Regions from separate parts of the Homo sapiens genome. Here all the other regions are linked to region 2. The links are contacts of gene promoters, found by promoter capture Hi-C in blood cells and fetal thymus (Javierre and others, 2016). All regions are on one chromosome and are shown on one strand. The core of a region is centred on a gene start or on the middle of the fragment in contact, and the rest is flanking DNA. Distances in the headings are between cores, read along the strand shown. Region 1 overlaps RBM10 (RNA binding motif protein 10). Region 2 holds the start of ELK1 (ETS transcription factor ELK1). Region 3 holds the start of ZNF157 (zinc finger protein 157).

Region 1 (3,957 bases), core at 310-2,809, 500 kb before region 2:
AATAATGTCCTTTATAATGGTTTTCCCCAATCCAGGATCCAGTCCAAGATCATGTATTGCATTGAGCTCCTTGTCTCCTTTAATCTGAAACAGTTATTCTATCTTTGTCTTTTATGACCTTGTCATTTTTTTTTTTCCTGAACCTATGGATTATATTGAAAGCATGTTTTAAAGTTAGTTGTTTTATAGAATGTTTCTCAGTTTGGATTTTTCTGATGCTTACTCATGAGTTTTTGGCAGAAATGTTATTTAAGTGATTTATGTATATTTTTAAAACCTTGTTAGATTTTATTAGCCATTGTATCATCTAGGATATCTACACCTGTATTTATCAGTGAGGTAGTCCAATATTTTTATTTTCAGTATTTATCTGGCATTGGAATCAAGGTAGCCTCATTACATGAATTGGGCAGCCTTTGTTATTCTCTCTTTATTGGAGAAACTTGTATAAGAATTATCTGTACCTCGAAAAACTTGGTAGGACTCACCTTTAAAAGCATCTGGAGGCTGGGCGCAGTGGGCTGAGGCAGTTGGATCACTTGAACCCAGGAATTCGAGACGATCCTGGGCAACATGGCGAAACTCTGTCTCTACAAAAAATACAAAAATTAGCTGGGCGTGGTGGCAGGTGCCTATAGTTCTAACTACTCAGGAGGCTGAGGCAGGAGGATTACCTGAGTCTGGGAGGTTGAGACTGTGGTAAGCCATGATCATGCCACTGCACTCCAGCCTCAGTGACAGAGTGACACCCTGTCTCAAAAAATAATAAAATAAAAGCATCTGGAGCTGGTTTTTGATTACCATTTCATCTCTTCTGCCAATTTTAGCATTTTATATTTTCTAGAAATATACTCATTTTGTGAAGATCCTCATATATGATGATTCAGTCCAGCATCCTAGAAATGCTTTATAAAAGGGATATGCCTTTGGAAGGTGTTTGTTCAGAGTGCTTTGGTGGCCAATTAAAAATATTCCTTTCTATCCAAATATGTTCCCTTCCTGAGTTTAGATAGCAAGAGTTCAATACCTGAATTTATTTGGTTTGGATATTGGATGTCAAGAGAGTTCAGGATAATTTCATCTGAAAATTTATAAATTTATTCATATCTGTTCAGTTCTTGATTTTTTTTCCTTTTTTTTTTGTTTGTTTGTTTGTTTGTTTTTGTTTGTGGAGATAGTCTCACTCTGTCTTCCAGGCTGGAGTTCAGTGGTGCGATCTTGGCTCACCGCAACCTCTGCTTTCCAGGCTCAGGGGATTCTTGTGCCTCAGCTTCCTGAGTAGCAAGGATTACAGGCCCGTGCCACCACACCCGGCTAATTTTTGTATTTTAGTAGAGACGGGGTTTCACCATGTTTGCCAGACTGGTCTCGAACTCCGTACCTCAGGTGATCCACTCGCTTCAGCCTCCGAAAGTGCTGGGATTACAGGTGTGAGCCACCATGATGGCCCAGTTCTTGAATTTTGATGACTACAGTTCAAATTGATTGTATCAAGAACCTTATAACTACTCATACCACTGACAGTGATTTCTTCTCTAGGCATTTACGGTAGGGAAACAATTTGGGGCCAGGTGTGGTGGCTCACGCCTGTAATCCCAGCACTTTGGGAGGCCGAGGCGGGTGAATCACGAGGTCAGGAGTTTGGGACCAGCCTGGCCAACATGATGAAACCCCATCTCTACTAAAAATACAAAAAATTAGCTGGGTGTGGTGGCAGGCACCTGTAATCCCAGCTACTCGGGAGGCTGAGGAAGGACAATCGCTTGAACCCAGGAGGTGGAAGTTGCAGTGAGCCAAGATCACGCCACTGCACTCCAGCCCGGAGGACAGTGCGAGACTCCCTCTCAAAAAAAAAAAAAAAAAAAAAAGAGTTTGGGTTCCAAGCTGAGTTCGTGGGGACAGGGACTTTATTTTGTTCACAGCAGTATCCCCATTACCTAGAACAGTACTTATCGTATAGCCAATGTTAGGTTAATATTTGTTGAATGAATGCATGAACAAATAATTGTTTAAAAAAATGGAAGTCAACCAAAATGTTTGAAAACATGTTTAATGGATATTTGCCCCATTTGTTACTTATCTTTATGGTGTTTTCCATAGTTTAGTGTGAAATTTCAAGCATGTAGCAAAGTTTAAAGAATTTTACAATGGGCCTGGTGCGGTGGCTCATGCCTGTAATCCCAGCACTTTGGGAGGCTGAGGTGGGCAGATCACGAGGTCAGGAGATCAAGACCATCCTGGCTAACACAGTGAAACCCCATCTCTACTAAAAATACAAAAAAATTAGCCGGCTGTGGTGGCGGGCGCCTGTAGTCCCAGCTACTTGGGAGGCTGAGGCAGGAGAATGTCATGAACCCGGGTGGCGGAGCTTGCAGTGAGCCGAGATCGCCACTGCACTCCAGCCTGGGCAACAGAGCGAGACTCCATCTCAAAAAAAAAAAAAAAAAAAGAATTTTACAATGAACACCATATATACCCATCCACTAGATTCTTTTTTTTTCTTCTTTCTTTCTTTTTTTTTTTTTTGAGATGGAGTTTTGTTCTTGTTGCCTAGGCTGGAGTGCAATGACACAATCTCAGCTCACCGCAACCTCTGCCTCCTGGGTTCAAGTGATTCTCCTGCCTCAGCCTCCCGAGTAGCTAGGATTACAGGCACGCGCCACCACACCTGGCTAATTTTGTATTTTTAGTAGAGACGGCGTTTCTCCATGTTGCTCAGGCTGGTCTCAAACTCCCGACCTCAGGTGATCTGCCTGCCTCGGCCTCCCAAAGTGCTCGGATTATAGGTGTGAGCCACCGTGCCCAGCCCACTAGATTCTACTATTAACGTTTTACCATACTTGCTTTATTACATATTTACTTCTAAGTTTCTCGTATTTTTTACACTCTATAGAGATTTATAATTTTTACAAAGCCAGATTTATTCATTTTCCTTTTATGACTGCTGGGATTTGTCTTGCTGAGGAAGGCCTTCCCCACTCTTAAGGTGATACATTTTTTTCTTATGTTTTCTAATATTTGTTTTCTTTTTTTAAAAGTTCAACTTTTATTATAGATTAAAGGATACACATACAGTTTTTTTTTTTAACTCAGTGAAGATGTCTGCACAGCAGGAATCATGTGGGATGGGATGGCCCTTTTTCCTAACGCTGGACCACTTGATGTTCTCTTCCATCTTCCCCCAACCCTCATTTAGATCATGACATCAGAAAATCAGGTTAAAGTTAAGAAAAAGAAGAATCAGATCATTGGGGATTCTTAGTAGTAGCATCGCCATTGGGAGCTGCTAGCCCAGCGGGTATTCCCCATGCCACCCCTCTGGATCTTGGCTCCATGGGTACTGGGAGGAGGCCTTGTTGGCCAGGGAGGCCACGCTGTGCTGCTAGAAGCTGGGCGACATACTGGTGGTGCAGCAGAGTCTCGGGTGCGGCAGCTTGGAGGTACTACCCACATAGGCATTGGCCTTCCAGGGTGCATCCTGGCCCATCATGCTGCTGCAGCAGCTGTGGCTGGTGCTGCATGTCTGCTTGCCTGCTAGGCTGCTCGCCGGCTTGGCCAGGAGCTTGCTGTGCCTCAGTGGGGCCACATCCCCTGTGGCTGCTGTGGCTGTGCTCTGGTCTTGGAAAATGGTGGCGATGTGGTTCCAGAGGTCTGTGAAGAACCTGCTCACACCCTCGTAGGCTGGGAAGGCGTTGATGTCGATGACGGCATGCTGCCCCATCTGGTTGTTGATGATGATGTCGGTGCCGAACAGCAATACTCCCAGTGCCTGCCGCAGGGCCCGGGGGAGTTCCCGGATGACCTCTTTGCTCGGCTGCTCTTGAACAGACCAGACCCCTTGATCTTGTCCAGCTCCATCAGGACCAATGATGACTCTGGCTTTGACACACTGTGGCTATTGAGGAAGATGGATTCGTGGTCACATTGTGTCCGCGGAGAATTTCTTGAGCAAGGGCC
Region 2 (3,654 bases), core at 693-3,192:
GGCTGGCCCATGCCTGCTATGTTTGAGGAGCTGTGTGGTGGAACCAGTGTGGTTGGAGCACAGTAAGGGGGTGGGAAGGTATAGGCGGTAATGCTAGAAAGGTTACTTGTTTTACCATTAATTCACAGTTAATATTTATTTACACTGGAAGGGATTCTAGTTCTGATCCCCCATTTCACAAATGAAGAAAAAGGCACAGAGAGGAAGTGGTTAAATCACTCATCTAAGGTCACACAGCTGCTGGGATTGGGGGGTGGGTGGGTGCTGAGAGAAGGTGAGGAATGAAGACTGCTCTGCAGGCAGAGGGAACAGCAAGAACAAAAGCTTGGAGGTGAGAACTAATTTGGTTTTTAAGGACTGAGGCCTCACGTGGGGTGGGATGAGATCTAAGAGGGGAGCCTCAAAAATTATCCTGTGTCCTGAGTACTTCCTGGGCCACCTTTGAGTAAGGAATTTAACCTCCCTATGGCCCAATTCCCTCACTACCTATCTCATGGGGTTGTGGTGAGGATTAAAGGAACTCATTCATATGAAACACTCTGCCTGATATACGGCAGGTGCTCAATAAACGCTAGCTCCTATTGGCATTACTATCATCACTGGCGCTAATGTATTCACTTATTGTAGTGAGGCAGAACGTCTTTGTGGTTACGAGTGTGACCAGGCTGACCCACTATTAAGAGGTGGAGGACAGGGAAGGCCGTACAGTGCTCCATCACAAGGAAAAGAGGATCAGCACGTTCTCTTCTGGGAAGGGAAAAAAAAAGAGAAGGAAATTGAAAGTACACGGCCGATCTTCCCCCAATTACAAAGCACTGGACTCACGGGAGGGTATGCGGGGGACTGTGCAAGCATACAGGGGTGTGGGGGAGGAAGGCCAATGAACAGATCCACTGCAAAGGGAGGGGTGATGAGGCTCATCGTCTGAGGGGAAGGGGAGCAGAAAACCTTACAGACTCCTGCACCACAGTGAGAGGAGAGAAAAGCCATCACACAGACTGATTCAAAGCAGAGAGGGAAAAGGCTATGGACTGAGCTACTGAAAATAGGGAGATGTAAAGCACTAAACTAACCCACTATTAAAAAGGAGAGAACCCCAAGCGCTAGAGCGACAGTCTACGAAAAAGAGGAGACAGGGCAATGGACTGATAGCTAAAGGGACGTGAATCCAAACATGAAGACTGATCCACTATAAAATGGTGGTGGTGGTGGTGGGGGGGGGGGGTGGTTTTGAAAAAAGCCATGGACTGATGCATTGGGGGACTGGAGGAGGCAGGAATACAAACTCAGGTAGACTCACTGTTAAAGAGGGATGCGGAGGAGTGCGGCGCCACGGATTGATTCGCTACGATGTACAGGAAGGGTGGAATAAATAAGGCCACGGACGGGTCTCCTGAAAGTTGAGGCTAGGAGAAATCCAAACACTCAGATACACCTACTATTAAGGGGGCTGAACACTGTCACAGGCTAGCTCCCTATAAGTGGGGGTGGGTGGGGGGCGGGTGGGGGTAGGGGTAGGGGGAAAGCCTATGGACGAGTCCACCCTAAGTTGGCGTGGGGAAAAACATAAGCACGCAGACCGATCCATTATACAACGGGAGGGGGAGGTTAGGCCACGGTCAGATCCACTATAAGGGACGAAGGGCTTGAGCAATGCCACACGCAGGTCCACCAGCCGTGGTGGTGGCGGCGGGGAGTCGAACACCAGCAGGCCACCGGCCAAGCCACATCCTCTGCGCGGGGGCGGGAAGGATACGTGGGGTCACGGACTGGGCCCTCCACCCTCCAGGCCCAGAGCTCACCTGTGTGTAGCGTGGCGGTGGCGTTGGCAATGTTGGCAGCTCCGGGGGGCGGGGGCTCCATACGCGGCCCCACCGCCCCCCAGGCCTGGGTTCCGAGGCGGCGGTGGAGGTGGTGGTGGCGGTGGCGGCGGCAGCACCTAGAAGCCGCCCCTGCGTTTCCCTACAGCTCACGTGGGCCCGAGGAGGAGGAGCCCAATGTCCCGCCGCTCGCTGATTGGCCAAAGCGCTATTAATCGGCCGCAAGGCCTCGAGGGGTTGGGGGACGGGCCCTTCCCTACAGAGCTGTGCCGTGATTGGCGTAAGGGGAAATGATGGAACGCTCACGGCCCCTGGAGTCCCGAGGAGGCGCGTTCGGCCTTCACGGTGCTCCACGCCGATTGGCTCAAGGACTGACGGACTGTGAGCAACTGAAAAGGCTCGGGGCCTGTGTCGGGGGGGCGGGGGTCTGCCTCACACTGATTGGCTTACATGGGATTGATGGAAGACAGCCCCCAAGGACGGGGGTGGGTGGCCCTGTTTTTCTCTGATTGGCGGACGAGGGACTTCTAGACCCCTGCCAAAACACCAAGGGGGCGGTGTCGCACGCCATGCTGCTCAGCGGAAGCAGGGCTTGTATAGAAATGGGCGTAGCAGCCGGCGGGAGTGGGTCGGACTGGGCTCCGCGTAGGCGGGCAGGGCAGCTCTACGGTTAGACAAGACCATAGAGCTGGGTAAAGACGAATTTAGAACACAGCGGAGGTAGGAGGGCAGGATGGCTGTCAGGCACACGAAAGAGCATTGAGTGGCAGAAACGAAATGCTTTCAGAGGGCAGGGTTGAACTGCGGCCAGAGTTAAAAAGGGGAGGAACCTGGCTCTGCATTGATTGGCGGTGGCTGGACTCAACCTAGAATAGGGGCCCGACTAGGGAGAGCGGGATCCAGGTCTGTGCCCATTGGAAGCTGGAACACTTACAAGCAGGGGCTAAGACAAGGTAGGGCTGAGTTAGGGTTTGGGTGTAATTTGGGGTACCTGGGGAATGATTGGGTGTGTGAAAGCGTAAACCTTAGGGCCCTTTGATTGTTGTGGGAATGAACAAACCTCCACCATGAATTGGCCCATTCTCTATGGCAATTCAAAGGGTGGCGTCTAGGAAAAGGAATGGAAGAAAGGGTGAGGTGGGGGGCCCAGGTTGCCAAGATGACAGAAGAGAGGGCAGTGCATAAGGTCAACTGGCAAATACTGCCAGGCAACAGGCTGGAGGCAGGACTGCTGGGGCATTTTGGAGGTTCCACAGAGAGACTGGATCTCTGGGTCTCTCAGTAACTTTGTGCCCTAGGAACAGGCCCCCGTGGCAACTAGCAGGGTTTATGGGGAAAAAGAAGGGCCATGTGACTCAAAGGCATTCAGGCTCTTTAATGTCTGAGGATGGGGGGAAGAAGTCAATGGTGAGGCTTCTCTGGGAAATTCTGCAGGCCTTGTAGTTCTCTAAGCCCCTGAAAAAGAGGACAGAAGAGATTGAACAAAGACTGGGTCTGGGTTACGCCCCCAGGCTTGCTCTGACCTCCCTCCCTTGACTCCAGTTTAGAGGGAAAGATGGTCCTTCCCTTCTTTCGCTCTCTTCCTTCTTCAGGTCACCACCCTAAACACAGAGTCTGGTAGTGGGGTGAGCTGCTCTCACCTCTAGCAACATGTGGATATGGGCTTTGATATTCATGGAGTCCTTGGTGAGGCTGTTGCTGAGCCTAGAGAAAAGAAACAAGAAAGGGCAAAATGGGCCCCACATGATTATGATGACCCTTCCTTATCACTTCAAGATCTACTTATATCCTGGATGATTTCCACCTGGCTCATTCCTATGTGGAAATGCCAAGC
Region 3 (4,108 bases), core at 1,155-3,654, 280 kb before region 2:
CGTGCCACTGCACTCCAGCCTGGGCGGCAGAGTGAGACTCCGTCTCAAAAAAAAAAAAAAAAAAAAAGAAAAGAAACTATCTGCTTTTGTAATTTTACCTTGTATCCAGCCCCTTACATTATATTATACCCTATTAATTTTAGTAGTCTTTTAGCAGTCTGGTAGGTTTTCCATGTATAAAATCATCTTATTGGATAGAAAGCTACATTTTCGTTTTCATTTCTTCCCAATGTTCATGTTCACCCTAATTATTATTTTCTTTTTTCTTTCTGCCTTTTTTTCTTTTTCTTTTTCTTTTTTTTTTTTTTTGTTTTGTTTTGTTTTGTTTTTGGGGTGGAGTCTTGCTCTGTCACCCAGGCTGAAGTGCAGTGGCGTGATCTCGGCTCACTGCAGTCTCTGCCTCCCGAGTTCAAGCAATTTTCCTGCCTCAGCCTCCTGAGTAGCTGGGATTACAGGTGTGTGCCACCATGTCCAGCTAATTTTTGTGTTTTTAGTAGACACGGGGTTTCACCATCGTCTTGAACTCCTGACCTGCTGACCTCAGGTGATCAGCCTGCCTTGGCCTACCAAAGTGCTGGGATTACAGGCGTGAGCCGCCTCCTCTGGCCTCTTTTTTTTTTCTTTAATAGAAACAAAGTGTCACTCTGTCATCCAGGCTGGAGTGTAGTGGAGTGATCTCAATGCACTGCAACTCTGTGTGTGTGTTTTTGTTTGTTTGTTTGTTTTTTAAGGATACTGGGTTTTGCCATGTTGTCCAGGTTAGTTTTGAACACCTGGGCTCAAGGGATCCTCTTGCTTTGGCCTCCCAAAGTGTTGGGATTAAAGCCGTGAGCCACTGCACCTGGCCTGATTATTTATTTCTTTTCTCTTCTTTTCTCCTTTCTTCCCTCCTTCCTTCCTTCCTTCCTTCCATCCTTCCTTCCTCTCTTTCTTTCTTTCTTTCTTTCTTTCTTTCTTTCTTTCTTTCTTTCTTTCTTTCTTTCTTTCTCTCTTTCTCTCTTTCTTTTTCTTTCTCTTTTAGAGACAAAGTCTTGCTCTGTCACCCAGGCTGGAGTGCAGTGGCGCCATCAGAGGTCACTGCAGCCTCAACCTCTCAGGCTTCTTAAGCTATCCTTCTGCTTCAGCTTCCTTAGTAGCTGGCACTACAGGTGTGGACCACCACACTCGGATTATTTTATTTCTTGTAAAGACAGCGTCTCACTTTGTTGCCAAGGCTGGTTTCGAACTCCTGGACTCAAGCAACCCTCCTGTCTTGGCCTCCCAAAGTTCTGAGATTACAGGCATGAGCCACTGTGCCCAGCCCACTCTATTTCATCTTCTCTTGTGTGAGCTAGAGCCCACAAAACAATTTTGGGTTATAGCAGACAGTACTAATTTTGTGGCAATAGCTTCATCATTTTACTTTTTAGCATGGTGTTTCAGAGTTATGTTTCATAATTGATTTTTGTGGCACTTAAGTTATTTACTTTTTCCATGATTTTAGTTTGAGCTTATATTAGTAATGGCTGCTGAATTGCGTTGGATGCTTTTTTGGTGTAAGTTAACAGCAGAGTGTTTCCCTCTGTAATTTGTTGATGTAATACATAACATTAGGCCTGGTGCAGTGGCTCACACCTGTAATCCCAGCACTTTGGGAGGCCAAGGCGGGAGGATCACTTGAGGTCAGGAGTTCGAGACCAGCCTGACCAACATAGTGAAAACCCGTCTCTACTAAAAATACAAACATTAGCTGGGCGTGGTGGCGGGCGCCTGTAATCCCAGCCACTAGGGAGGCTGAGGCAGGAGAATCCCTTGAACCTGGGAGGCGGAGGTTGCTGTGAGCTGAGATCGCACCATTCCACTGCAGCCTGGGTGACAAGAGTGAAACTCCATCTCAAAAAAAAAAAAAAAAAAAAGAAAAAATACATAACATTATTAAGATTGAACCATTTTTTTCTGGAAAGAAGAGGCTAAAAGCTTCCCAGTAAAAGAATTTAAGAGGGATATTTCATCTAAGAGTGGAAAAAAACAAAAGACGGCAGAAGAAAGGACCAGCCGATTTCCTTTCATTTAGATTATCAGCTTTCCAGGTTTCCTGCCCTCACAGTCACCCACCAGGTCCCCTTGAACCTGCCCACCCCATGGGCCTTAAGCACCCTTAAGCACTGCCCCAGTTCTACTTCTCCTAAACCCAGATCTGCCTTGAACTTGAACTGAGGTGTAGGCTGGCTGAGTAGCGAGTGAAGCACCTGGTAGAGCCACTCAAGAAGGGACCCCAAGCTCATTAATTTGGCCCCAAATTTGATCATTTTGTAATCCACCTTGACTCATGCTCTGGGGATGCTGAACATTGTGGCGTGAATGTGGGATGACACTGATGATATGGATACTGTCCTTTTAGGATTTCTTGGTGTCTCTGTGGAGCCATTGAGCCTTACCCCTTACTGGAGGCTGCAGGACCCTCTACACACAGACAGCTGTCCAGCACGGAAGGTGGGCTGAGGCCCAGGGTGAACATGCCAGCTAATGGGACATCACCCCAGAGATTCCCTGCCCTGATTCCAGGAGAACCTGGCAGATCTTTTGAGGTAAGGAGGAGGATCCTATTTTTTTCTATATGTTCTTTATTTTTTTATTTATTTTTAGTTAAATTTATATTTTGAGATAATTGTAGATTCAAATGCAATGTACCATTTACCTAGTTTTTGTCCCCAGTAGTAACATCTCGTAATACCCAGGATATTGACATGCAGAGCATTTCCATCCCCACAAGGATCCCCCATGTTGTCATTAAATAGACACAACCACTTCACTTCCTCCATCACTCCCCTCTTAACCCTGGGGCACCACCAATCTGTTCTCCAATACTATAATTTTTTCATTTCAAGAATGTTGTGGCTGGACGTGGTGGCTCACGCCTGTCACCTGTAATCCCAGCACTTTGGGAGGCCGAGGCGGGTGGATCACTTGCGGCCAGGAGTTTGAGACCAGCCTGGCCAACATAGTGAAACCCTGTTTGTACTAAAAATACAAAAATTAACCAGGTGTTGTGGCACGCACCTGTACTCCCAGCTACTCGGGAGGTTGAGACCGGAAAATCGCTTGAACCTGGAGGCGGAGGTTGCAGTAAGCCAAGATCGTGCCACTGCACTCTGCCTGGGTGACAGAGTGAGACCCTGTCTCAAAAAAAAAAAAAAGTTTTATTTGCCGGGCATGGCAGCTCATGCCTGTAATCCCAGCTCTTAGGGAGGCAGAAGCAGGAGGATAGTTTGAGCCTAGGAGTTTGAGACCTGCCTGGGCAATATAGTGAGACCCTGTTCTCCACAAAAAGGAAAAAAAGGACAAAAAAGAGAGACTGTTATATTAATCAGATTGTACAGTATGTACCTTTTGGGACTGGCTTTCGTCATTCAGCAAAATTCTGTGGAGATATCAATAGCTAACAGTATATCAATAGTTCATTCATTTTTTTTGAGACAGAGTCTTGCCCTGTCACCCAGGCTGGACTGCAATGGCGTGATCTTGGCTCACTGCAACCTCTGCTTCCCGGGTTCAAGCTATTCTCCTGCCTCAGCCTCCCGAGTAGCTGGTATTACAAGTGCGTGCCACCACACCTGGCTAATTTTTTGTATCTTTAGTAGAGACGGGGTTTCACCATGTTGGCCAGGCTGGTCTTGAACTCCTGACCTCGTGATCCACCTGCCTCAGCCTCCCAAAGTGCTGGGATTACAGGCGTAAGCCACCGTGCCCTGCCCATTCCTTTTATTGCTGATACTTTTCCATCGCATGGATGTACCAAACAGTATAACCATTCACTGGTTGAAAGACATCTTGGTTGTTTCTAGTTGTTGGATATTATGAATAAAGATCCTATAATAGTTTGTGTAAGGTTTTTGTAGGGGTGTGATACTGTGAAATATATAATTGGTCTTTCCTGGCAAACAACTCCTAATATCCTCGGAATCTCTAAAGTACTAAAGTGTCTTTTTGTATGCTAATGAGTTGACTGATGCCTGGCAGTCCCTAGGCAGCTTCCGAATGGGGCTGGTCACCAGAAAGACTAAGGTAGGTTTAGAGGGTTGGGACCCTCCAACCACCTGGGAGGGGAGAGGGTGCTGAGAGTCAAGTC

The links. Contacts are between HindIII fragments. The CHiCAGO score rates a contact against its expected background, and 5 or more counts as called.
Region 1: a fragment that was not itself captured here is called in contact with the fragment with the promoter of ELK1 in region 2 in 4 of 17 cell types (monocytes, naive CD4 T cells, naive CD8 T cells and 1 more); the score reaches 5.8 in monocytes.
Region 3: a contact is called between the fragment with the promoter of ZNF157 here and the fragment with the promoter of ELK1 in region 2, in 10 of 17 cell types (non-activated CD4 T cells, total CD4 T cells, activated CD4 T cells and 7 more). The highest score is 15.6, in non-activated CD4 T cells.

The regions. Positions count from the first base shown.
Region 1 is chrX:47,153,301-47,157,257 of GRCh38, forward strand. All of the region lies in intron 2 of RBM10 (RNA binding motif protein 10), which reads left to right. It also overlaps the pseudogene ITPK1P1. Among named protein-coding and RNA genes, the nearest start is that of RBM10, 10 kb to the left of the region's middle. The HindIII fragment of the contact is 7,763 bases long and covers 1-3,957 here.
Region 2 is chrX:47,648,621-47,652,274 of GRCh38, forward strand. It overlaps ELK1 (ETS transcription factor ELK1), which reads right to left and starts at 1,943. Exons shown (of 7, transcript NM_001114123.3): 1 at 1,803-1,943; 2 at 1,301-1,406. UXT (ubiquitously expressed prefoldin like chaperone) reads right to left here. Exons shown (of 7, transcript NM_004182.4): 6 at 3,461-3,524; 7 at 3,176-3,275. The coding sequence ends at 3,222. RefSeq lists a cis regulatory region at 1,406-2,386 and a silencer at 1,718-2,127. The HindIII fragment of the contact is 5,079 bases long and covers 323-3,654 here.
Region 3 is chrX:47,368,174-47,372,281 of GRCh38, forward strand. ZNF157 (zinc finger protein 157) reads left to right here and starts at 2,405. Exons shown (of 4, transcript NM_003446.4): 1 at 2,405-2,567. The coding sequence starts at 2,496. The HindIII fragment of the contact is 3,930 bases long and covers 1,955-4,108 here.